Regions from separate parts of the Homo sapiens genome. Here regions 1 and 2 are each linked to region 3. The links are contacts of gene promoters, found by promoter capture Hi-C in blood cells and fetal thymus (Javierre and others, 2016). All regions are on one chromosome and are shown on one strand. Each heading gives the region's core, a stretch centred on a gene start or on the middle of the fragment in contact. The rest is flanking DNA. Distances are from core to core; before and after follow the strand shown. Region 1 holds the start of SLA2 (Src like adaptor 2). Region 2 holds the start of TGIF2 (TGFB induced factor homeobox 2). Region 3 holds the start of AAR2 (AAR2 splicing factor).

What was found. Contacts are between HindIII fragments. The CHiCAGO score rates a contact against its expected background, and 5 or more counts as called.
Region 1: the fragment with the promoter of SLA2 here is called in contact with the fragment with the promoter of AAR2 in region 3 in 2 of 17 cell types (erythroblasts and total B cells); the score reaches 5.5 in erythroblasts.
Region 2: a contact is called between the fragment with the promoter of TGIF2 here and the fragment with the promoter of AAR2 in region 3, in 11 of 17 cell types (erythroblasts, total B cells, megakaryocytes and 8 more). The highest score is 14.1, in erythroblasts.

What each region holds. Positions count from the first base shown.
Region 1 is chr20:36,644,760-36,648,224 of GRCh38, reverse strand. It overlaps SLA2 (Src like adaptor 2), which reads left to right and starts at 2,029. Exons shown (of 8, transcript NM_032214.4): 1 at 2,029-2,388. The HindIII fragment of the contact is 2,848 bases long and covers 1,028-3,465 here.
Region 2 is chr20:36,572,038-36,575,424 of GRCh38, reverse strand. TGIF2 (TGFB induced factor homeobox 2) reads right to left here and starts at 1,828. Exons shown (of 3, transcript NM_021809.7): 1 at 1,680-1,828. It overlaps TGIF2-RAB5IF (TGIF2-RAB5IF readthrough), which reads right to left and starts at 910. Exons shown (of 5, transcript NM_001199535.2): 1 at 790-910. It overlaps DLGAP4-AS1 (DLGAP4 antisense RNA 1), which reads left to right and starts at 2,150. Exons shown (of 5, transcript NR_109939.1): 1 at 2,150-2,513. RefSeq lists silencers at 1,472-1,641, 1,712-1,801, 1,832-2,151 and enhancers at 2,652-2,711, 3,330-3,387. The HindIII fragment of the contact is 13,842 bases long and covers 1-3,387 here.
Region 3 is chr20:36,234,707-36,238,194 of GRCh38, reverse strand. AAR2 (AAR2 splicing factor) reads right to left here and starts at 1,717. Exons shown (of 4, transcript NM_001271874.2): 1 at 1,692-1,717. It overlaps LOC105372602 (a long non-coding RNA gene), which reads left to right and starts at 1,729. Exons shown (of 3, transcript XR_936695.2): 1 at 1,729-1,837. The HindIII fragment of the contact is 9,166 bases long and covers 1-3,488 here.

The DNA.
Region 1 (3,465 bases), core at 780-3,279, 410 kb before region 3:
ATCTGTCTAAAAATAATAATAATAATACATAGAGCAAGGTCTGGAGGGGTCCCAGGGAGTTGGGGTGTGCCACCCTTCTGGTGTGTTGGATGTGTTCACCAACCTGGAAACTCTCTGAACCTCGTACTTTAGGGATTTTTATGGAAGCTTCATCACATAAGCATTATCAATTATTAACTCAATCTCGAGCTCCTCTCCCCACTCCAGAGGATGAGGTGGGACTGAAAGCCCCAAGCTCATAATGATGGCTTTGTCTTTCTAGTGACCAGTCCCCATCCAGGAGCCCACCAAGTGTTGCCTCATTAGAACAGAAAACACTTCTGTCACCGAGGAAATTAGAAGGGTTTTAGCAGCTCTGGCCAGGAGCCAGGGAGGAACACCAGTGCATATTTCTTAGTGGATAGACCTAGGATTTTAAATTTTGTAATTCTTAGGTGCCTCCCTAAGTAGAAAAGGAGAGTTATGCCGTGGGATTCTTTTAAGAAGAGACCAGAGATTCCCTACTTCCTGCCCCATTCATGAACTGCACCTTGAGGCTTGTTTTGAAGATGTGCGTATCATAAGAAGACGGGCATTACAGTTGTATGGCAGCAGGAGTGGGAAGGTGGGCTCAAGCTCAAGTCCCTCCCTGCCAAGGCCCACATCCCTGAGTGGCTGTCACCCATTCTAACGTCCTGATTAGAACTCTCTTGCAGAAGTGTGCCTCCACTCTGGCTCCTTCAGCTCTGTGTGCCAAGTGCCTACAAGGATAAAAATCAAACCAGCCTTCCCTAGGATCAAAGGAGAACCTGAGCAGGAGTGCTGTAGCTGGCAAGGCCCCAGAAAGGGCTGCATGGGCTGAGCTGGAGTCAGGAATCATTTCAGTGCAGTGGGCCCTTTGTCTCCAAGAGTACTAATCCCCCTAATGGGGAAGCAGCGAGAGGGTGTGGTTAAATCTTAATGAAGAGTGGGACTGAAGGTAACACACTGATCAAAGACAATTCAGCCAGAGTCAGATTCTTTATCCTAGACCAGTGATTCTCAAGCTTGGGCATGGACTGTGGCTCATGCTTGTAATCCCAACACTTAGGGAGGTGGAAGTGGGAGGAACAATTGAGGCCAGGAGTTTGAGATTAGATGGAGCAGCACAGTGAAACCTCATCTGTACAAAAAAAATTTAAAATTAGCCAGGAGTGCTGGTGCACACCTGTAGTCCTAGCTACTCAAGGCTGAGAAGGGAGGATTACTTGAGCCTGGGTCAAGGCTGCACTAAGCTATGATTGTGCCACTGCACTCTATCCTGGGTGACAAAGCAAGACCCTGTAAAAAAAAAAAAAAAAAAAAAAAAAAAAAAATCAAGCCTGGGCATGCATCGGAATCACCTGGAGGCATGAAAACAGATTGCTGGGCCTACCTCCAGAGTATGATTCCATAGATCTGGGATGCGGCCTGAGAATTTGCATGTCTAACAAATTCCCGCTGAGGCTGCTGGTCTAGGGACCATACTTGGAGACCACTGTCCAGATACTGCTGCTATTCAAAGTGTGGTCCCCAGACTGGCAACATGGGGGTCACCTGGGAGCGTATTAGAAATGCAAAATACTGAACTCTGCCCCAGACCTTCTGAATCAGAGCCTGCAGTGCAACAAGATCCCCAGGTGATTCCTATACACATTAAAGGCTGAGAAGGCAGTGCTTCCCACACTCGTCAGTCAAGGGAATCTCCTGCAGGGTTTAAAATTTAGATTCCTGGGCTCCCTATCTGGAGACTTGGATTTAGAAAGTTTGGGAGATCCCAGAAATTGCTACAATTAAGTCCCGCTGAGTGATTATTATGGTCAGGCCAGCATGGGAACTCCGGCTCATTTTCCTCAGTCCTGTGTTCCTTGGACAAGACTAAGCCACAAAGCCAGAGAAAAACCTTTTGCTCCACGATCATGACAAGGCAGCAGCTGCTCCCCTAGAAACAGGAACTTGGGGAAGGTGGCTCCTCGACGGTCTGTGATGCCGTCAGAGGAAACGGGTGGTTGTGAGAACCACAGAGTCTGCAGTCGGAGCTAGAGCTCCAAGGACCCCACGCCTGTGTCTCTGTGACAGAGCTCAAAGGGCCCTGGGCCTTCCCTCCCTGGCTCGGCTGTGCTTGGGAGGGTTCCCCAGTCCAGAATCCCTAAGGAGCATGGGGCAGCTGATCCATCCCTGGTGTACAAACTGCTGACTGCAGACAGATGCTGAGCTACCCAAACCAACACCTAGCCTCTCCCTGAAGATCCTCCCAGGCTGAGAGAGTTCTGGGTGTCCTAGGACCAAGGACACTGGCAGACTTCCAGAAGGGCCCCCAAAGCCCTAACCTGTCCAGCCAGAGCATGCGTCTCAGCAGAGCTGTCTTCCCAAGCCTTTGATGACAAACCAGTAAGTATGCTTGCTTTTGTTCTTGGATGGCCTGGAGACAGGTGAGGAAGAATGGTCTCCCCTGCCCCGACTGGGACTGGGCTTTATTTGCTGTTGGGAAAAAAACAAGCTCAAGGAGAAGGGGGAGTGGTTCTACTGAGGCTGTAAAGAGGGGTGGTTTCTGGGGGTCCCAGAAGAACCAAGACTCACCTGCTCCACCTTTGACCTCCTCTTGGAGCTTACGCTCTTCCGTGCAGCTTGTCTTCACGCCCGTCCTAGTCCCATCTCAGGTGCGCACTTGCTGTGTGACTTTGGGCCCCTCTCTGCGCTGCAGTCAGACTCCAAAGTCAGGAACGTGAGGGCTACCATCTCTCAAGACATTTCAGCTGTAGAGCCTACAGTGCACTCTCACTCTCAAAGGGGTGATATTTCTCAATTGGAAGAGAGGGAGAGGTCTCCCTTTAACTCAATCCAAATTCATTTTTTTTTTTGAGTTGGGGTCTCATTCTGTTACCCAGGCTGGAGTGCAGCGGCGTAATTATGACTAACTATAGACTTGAACCACTGGGCTCAAGTGATCCTCCTGCCTTAGCCTCCCAAGTAGCTGAGACTACAGGCATGTACCACCATGCCCAGCTAATTCGTTATATTTTTGTAGAGATGGCAGGCGGTGGTGGGGGTGGGGGTGGGGGTTCTCACTATGTTGCCCAGGCTGGTCTCGAACTCCTGGCCTCAAGCAATCCTCCTGTCTCAGCCTCCTAAATTGCTGGGATTACAGGCATGAGCCACTGTGCCTGGCCAAATTCATCACTCTTACCCCCACTGCTGAAAAATGATCTTCAGAAGCACAAAATACACATGATGGCAGGCCCAGTCCTGCACGAATGGGCTACATGAACAGAATCACATGGTTGTCCTCTCAGGGACTTGGTCACTGTATCTGAAATGGGACCCAAGTGAGATACTGAAAAAAAAAAAAAAAAAAAAAACACAATATTCTGGGCAGCGTGCTCATCTCGGCTGCCGTTGACTAACTTTTTCCTTTCACCCGATGCCTCATGTCCTCCGGAAAGTGCCTGGCACATAGTAAGTTTTTCA
Region 2 (3,387 bases), core at 579-3,078, 340 kb before region 3:
CACCCTGGCTGCCAGCCAAGTCTGTCTGCAGGGTTCCCCGGGTGGGCCCTGGGGAATGACCCCTCAGTCTACACAAACTTCTCCACCTCGGTGTTCCGCCACACAGGGCCATCTGTAGTCTGGGAGGCTTCCCACATATGCACCCCACACCGCACCCAGACACACTCACGCCAGGCAATTAACCAACAGCGCTAGGATAACTGGCCCGGACCCATCGCTCAAGCCTTACAAACCCTAGGGTTTTCACCGACGCATACAGCACGCACACGCACAGCTTACAGACCCCAGGCCTAGCACGAACAACTGTGACCCACACAACTAGCCCAACTTCTGTACCCGCCCACCCACGAACTCCAACCGACCCGGCCACCCCCGATCTCTCCGACAGGGAAAACTCCAGGCGTCATCACACTAACAATCAGTTCTACCCTCAGTGACCTGTGGCAGCAACCCCTCGACACAACATCCCGTACACCCTCCTACAGACTCCCACGACGCCACCTGCAGCCACTCCCGCACGAACTTTCTGACAACTCCCCTAGCTGGTCCCGACACTCCCCCGGGCCGCGCACTCACGCCCGCATTCCCAGCAGTTCAGACAAAGCGCGCAACCTCCCCCGCGGCCCAGACCGAGTCGGAGCACATGGCTCCTGGGTCGGCGAGGAATCGTCCGGCGCTCGGGGCGCTTGCACCCCACAGTCCCCACACCCCGGGCCGACTCCGCGCACCAGCTCCCGCGCGGGCCCGCCATCCCGGTGGGACGGGGGCTCTGGAAGAAAGAAAACTCACGTGTCTGTCCCGGGGCAGGAAAAAGTTTGGTTCCCACCCCTACTCCGGCAGTTCGGGGCTGGCCGACTCTTCGGGGCGCGGGGACGGCGGAGCGTGCGCGCTCGGCTTTGTGCTCCGAACTGGGCCCGGAGGGGGAGGGGAGGGGAAGGGAGGGGAGGGGGCTGGGCTCCCACCTCCGCGCCGCCCCCCCCCCCCCAGCCCTGCGCCCAGACTCCATGTTGGCCGCCCCCTGCCCCGGAGACTACGCGCTTCTCCCGCGGGAGGCTTGGATCACCTTCGGCCTGCCCGAGGGTCCCGGCGCGAACAAACTTTCTCCGGGGCGCCGGCCCCACGCGCCCCGCTTCCTTGGCCAGCCTGGGAGTGACAGATGCCTCGGAGACAGACTTTCCTTTGTTCCAAAGGAAAGGGGAACTCGCGCGGGCTCCCCAGGGCCCCCCCGCTCCGGGCCCTTCCCGCGGCCCCCACCCCCAGCTGTCACTCTCGGCCGCCCCCTGTCCGGCTCGGCGGCGGGGGGGCCCTGCTGGCGGTTAGCAACGTGCACTTTTGAAACCAAACAAATCCGTCCCCCCGCGCGCTCACTCAGGTCCGGTGCAGGATCGGCCCTCTCCTGGGGTGGGATCCTATGAAGCTGGGCCCCCCACCAGGGCCCCAAGCGGGCTTCCTCCCGGGGGCTGGAACAGTCCCCCACCGGCCCCCGGAGCGCAGCGCCGTCGGGACTCACAAACACCCCCCGGGGGCCGTCGGGACTCACAAACACCCCCGAGCTCACACACCCCCTACCGCACGCGCCAGGACGACGCCCCCTCCCCGTCCGGCCGAGAAAAAGAAACTTTCCAAGTTGTCCGCGCGCCCCCACCCCCATCTGGCCCTCTGCTGCTCCCTGCACTGACTTTTCCCAGCGGCTTTCGGGTCCACGCGGCCTCCGGCTCGGCGCGGGGCGTCCCGGCGGGGAGCGGGGGGCGCCGGGGGCGCGCGCCGCGTACCTGCCCGGCCTGACACTCGGCCTGACAGCTCGCGGCTGGAAAGCACCTCGCGGCCTGACGTCAGATCCCCTCTCCTCCCCCCGCGCCCTCTGCGCCCTCCCCCACCCGCCCGGAGGGAGAAAACAAACTTTGTGCGGAGCGCGACGAGCTGCGCCCACCCCCCGCGGGGCGGGCCGTCGGCGCCGAGGGGCTTCGCCCCGCCCAGCGCGCCCGGAGGGGGCGGGGCCGCGGGCACCTTCTTCCTGCGCCCACCCCGCCCTCAGGAATGCTGCATGGCCTACCCATAGCGGCGGTGGGAGCCTCCGCCGGGGAGAGCCCGCTCGGGGGCAGGAAGTGGCCCGGCCCTCCTCGTGGAGGGCGTTTCCGGAGCGCCTACTGTGCTCCTTGCCGGGGTGGGGGTCGTTACCGAGTGGGAACTTCTGCAAATCCTGACTTTTGTCACTTCGCGCCCCGCACAAGATGTCCTGCCGGCGGTGCGATTGGTCCCGTTGCTTCGAGGGGAAACTGAGGCCACTTAGTCCGGGCACTTACCCGCAGCTAGTTAAGGACTAGGCTCTGATGGAGACGCTTGTTACGACCTCAATGGCCTGTAGAATCTGGGAGGCCGCCTCCGACCTAAGCCCAAAAAGCACATGATCGGGCTCACAGGGGGCGGCCAGAGGTGAAAACAGCCAACGCTTTACAACGACGCTGTGCGGGGCACTTCGTGTGTGTCATCCCGTCTCATCCTCGGGTGATAGGGTATGTGTTGTCCTATGTAAGTCTCTGGCTTACTCATGAGCCGCAGAGAGGTTCTTGATTTGCTTTTGTCACACAGTCAACCGGTATCATTCAGCCCAGGTCGGTCGATAGTGAAGCCTGATCCCTTACCCCTTGTGCCCGGCCTTAAACGATCAGTCCAGGAGCTCCCGGAGTTCCTGTCTGGTTTCTTTTTCCTCTTCTGCCAGTTACACCCTACTCCAGAAGGTTTTCCTTGGCCTCCCCCACCCCAGTCAGTACATTCTTCCCTGCTCTCTGCTGTGGGTACCACATACTGTGATATTTCTGTTAACCAGCCTCTTAGGGCATCCCCCCACGCCCCCCAGCCCTGTACCCGGACACGGCTAGGTCCAGATATCTAGGGCCCTTGAGCTTGGAAATCGCTTTGAAAACAGCTTTTGGACTTAATTACCCTTTAGCAATGGAGAACTCTAGGAACAAAACTCTTAATTTTTTCCAAACAAGCCTTAAGCCAATCAGAATGCTGATTAAAGATTGTTAAGGTTTCACCTGGACACCCCATAGAAGCCAGACTTCCTGCAAATGTTAAAAACCTCCTCACGGCAGCGGGTGAAATGTCAGTGGCACTGCCTGTTGCTCTCCATTTCACAGACAGGGAAAATAAGGCCCAGAGTGTGGGTCAGAAACAATTTTTTTGGCCGGGGAAGTGGTGCTCCCCCCACGGCCCTGTGAAAGAAAAAGCCACGTCTGGGTTGCCTTAGGTAAGAAATGTAAAACCAATGGGCCTTGGCCTCTAGGAAATGTATGGGACAGGGACCTTCAGAAGAGGGGAGCCCCAGGGGGAAATGGGTGCGACCAGGTGAGCCTGGAGAGGGGGCTCTGGTAGTGGCTGCTG
Region 3 (3,488 bases), core at 468-2,967:
GAGCTTTGTGTGTTTGTGTGTATACTTGGTTGTGCCATAAAATGTATTCGTTACTGTAGGTCACAGTCATAAAAGTTTGAAAGACTCTGCTCTAAATAATTCGTATCAACAGGCCGGGCGTGGTGGCTCACGCCTGTAATCACAGCACTTTGGGAGGCCGAGGCGGATGGATAATGAGGTCAGGAGTTTGAGACCAGCCTGGCCAATACTGTGAAACCCCATCTCTACTAAAAATACAAAAAAAATTAGCCGCGCATGGTGGTGTGCGCCAGTAGTCCCAGCTACTTGAGAAGCTGAGGCAGAAGAATTGCTTGAACCTGGGAGGCAGAGGTTGCAGTGAGCTGAGATCACACCACTGCACTCCAGCCTGGGGGTCTGAGCGAATTCCGTCTCAAAATAATAATAATAATAATAATAATAATAATAATAATAATAATAATAATACGTATCATCTTCCTATTTGTAATCCTGAATTCAGAAAGTATTTAATATTTGCTGAATGAACAGATATTCCATTTACAATAACAGCTCATCAATTAGCCATTTTCCCTTGTGACATCTGTGTGCTCCTCCTTGATAATGACGTTTCTTTCATGCTAATTCCACCAGTCTGTAATTCTATTCACTATATCTCCAGCAGCTGGCACAGGGCCTAGCACAGAGGAGATGCTAGGAAAACGTTTATTAAATATGCATAGAACTCTGCAGTCTACCAGCCCCTGTCACTGACAGCTCTGTGAGTTCCTCACAGTCCTGGAACACCTAAAGTCACATCCATCCACTTCTCTCCACCACCTCCCTAATCCAAGCTACCATCGTCCCTCACTCAGAGTGCTTGCTCCTCAACCCATTCTCCATTCAACAGCAGTAACCTTTTCAAAATGCCAATCTAATCACAACACCACCCATGTCAGCTTCTGAGTGGTTTCCCATATGGTTCTTGAAAAACCAGAATTCTTCCTATTACCTACAAAGCCTGCACGGTCTGACTCCTGGCAACCCCTTTAGCTTGTGTCACACAATGGTCCCCCACAAGCTCTCTGTTCCAGCCACAACGGCCTCTTTCAGAACCTGAAATTGGAGGCTGTCTCCATATAGAAAACTCTTCCCTCCCCACTTTGTCAAATCCTTTTTTCTGATCTCAGCTCAATATTCACCTCCTCAGTAAAGGTTCCTTGCCCTGGGGCTAGGTCAGGTCTCCTGTGATATAATCTGGGGTGCCTTGTACCTTTCCGTCTCAATGATCACAACTGCAGTTTTGGATGTTTGATTGAAGGCTGTCATCGCCACGAGACTTGAGTCCTGCTGTATCCCTAGCACAGATTCAACGCTTAGTAAACATTTATTTAATACAAGTATGATATCCATTTTGTAAACGAGAAACAAAGCCTCAGTTCGGGGAAAGACCTTACTGGAAGTCACGCAGAGAGTAGGGCAGAGCCAGGTCGAGTGCAATCAGGGTCTCCGGCCCCCAGGCTCTAAAGTTAAGAAAACCGCGACGTAACTCTGGCGACGGCTTCTCAGGAAGGGCCTCCAGAGACACCAGCGTCCCACAAACAGAGAACCAGCCGCCCCGGCGAGGTGGGCCTAGTTCAAGGCACTCCGTGACTCTGAGCCGAGAAGAGGGGCGGCCCAGCCACACATACACAAGGAATCAGGAAAGGAAAAAGAGGCCAGGAGGCCACACTCACCGCCTCGCCCCACGTTCCGGTACAGCGGAAACGCACCGGAAGTTCTCCAGCTTTGGCGTCTGACTGGAGCGACGGGGGAAGCGGTCCGGCAGAGCCCTGGGTCGCGGGAAGAATGGCCCGTGCCTGCAGGTTCCGCCGGATGCAAGGTTGCCTTTTGTTATTCTTAGTTTCTCGTTTTAGCTTCTGAATTGTGAACAACTTTCATTAACCTATGCATTTTATATCCCCGTCCAGAAACACAGCCACCAGCCATCTTACTTTGGGCTCAAGCAGTCATGGTCACTAAAGCACAGCCAAGGCTTGTACCAGTGGCTACTATTCAGAAGTAGCCAGTCAGGCGCTCGGTCACTGTCTTTGTCAGCCAGTCTCTATCCCGGTCACAGTGTCTCAGCTTCCAGTCACACTCAGCCCTCGGGGAGAGCCTCAGAAACCCAGCCACCAGCCCAGAGAGAACCAGCGTCAGCCTCCGCTGCTGCAGCAGCAGCGGTCGCCACCTCAGTCCCTCTGGCCATTATCACCCCGTGTCCTTCCTGCAGGCCAAGTCCTAACATCTCAGTCAGGCTATCAACGCACTAGGGAAGGAATCTGCCTGTCTTGTTCCTCACTGTTTCCCTGGAACCGAGCACAAAGCCAGGCACAAAAGCTCAGCTGAGTACATATATTATGCATTTAATTAATAATGATGATAATTTGGTATTAATAAATAACTATTTGTGGGTCTAACCCTGCACTATTAATCAGGGTTCCACCAAAGATACAGAGCCAGTAGGAGATCTATATTAAGTGATTTATTGCCAAGAATTGGCTTATGTGATTTTAGGGCAGGCCACTTGGGTATTTCTTTTTTTGAGACGCAATCTCACTCTGTCACCCAGGCTGGAGTGCAATGGCGCTATCTCGGCTCACTGCAACCTCCACCTCCTGGGTTCAAGCCATTCTCCTGCCTCAGCCTCCCAAGTAGCTGGGATTACAGGCGCCCACCACCGTGCCTGGCTAATTTTTGTATTTTTAGTAGAGACGGGGTTTCATCTTGTTGGCCAGGCTGGTTTCGAACTCCTGACCTCAGGTGATCTGCCCACCTTGGCCTCTCAAAGTGCTGGGATTACAGGCATGAGCCACCGTGCCCGGCCCACTTGGGTATTTATAATCCTTGCACTAACCCTTGTAAGGTATGTGTATTCCCAATTTGCAGAAGAGAAAACTGAGGTTCAAAGAGATGTTACACAGCCAGAGAATGGCAGAGCTAGAATGCAAACCAAGGGCTGTCTGTTCTTATCTCTTGTGCTGCTGCTCCTTAGCTTGTCTGTCACATTTCCTCAGTGACAGCTGGACACGCCAATCTGTCTCGGTCAAAATTTATCTCTTAGTGGGTTGCAGACTAGACCGGGCCCTGCAGTCATGGTTAATCACAATGAGCTGCTGCAGGATTAACCAGAGACAGCCTCCATCAGTCACAGTCATGCTTACCAATCTCAGCCTGTCCTGTCAAGTTTCATCTCCTGCATGAAGAAGCTCAGCTCCCTCTCCACCCCTCCCCACTCCCAGTCTTAAGTGCTGAGCTCTATGGTCTGGTCTCAAAGCTCCCTGTTTCAGTTGGGCTCACCGTCTTTTCAGAGACTCCAGGACACTGAACACTGGTTGTAGAAGCTGTAAATGGTGGCCTAGGAGTCCCACCTTGTGGGTCACATGTCCATTTAGATCAGAATTTCTCAACCTTGGCACTATTGACATTTGGGGCCAGATAAGTATTTGTTGTATGTGGCTGTCCTGTGCATTGTAGGATGTTTAGCAGCAACC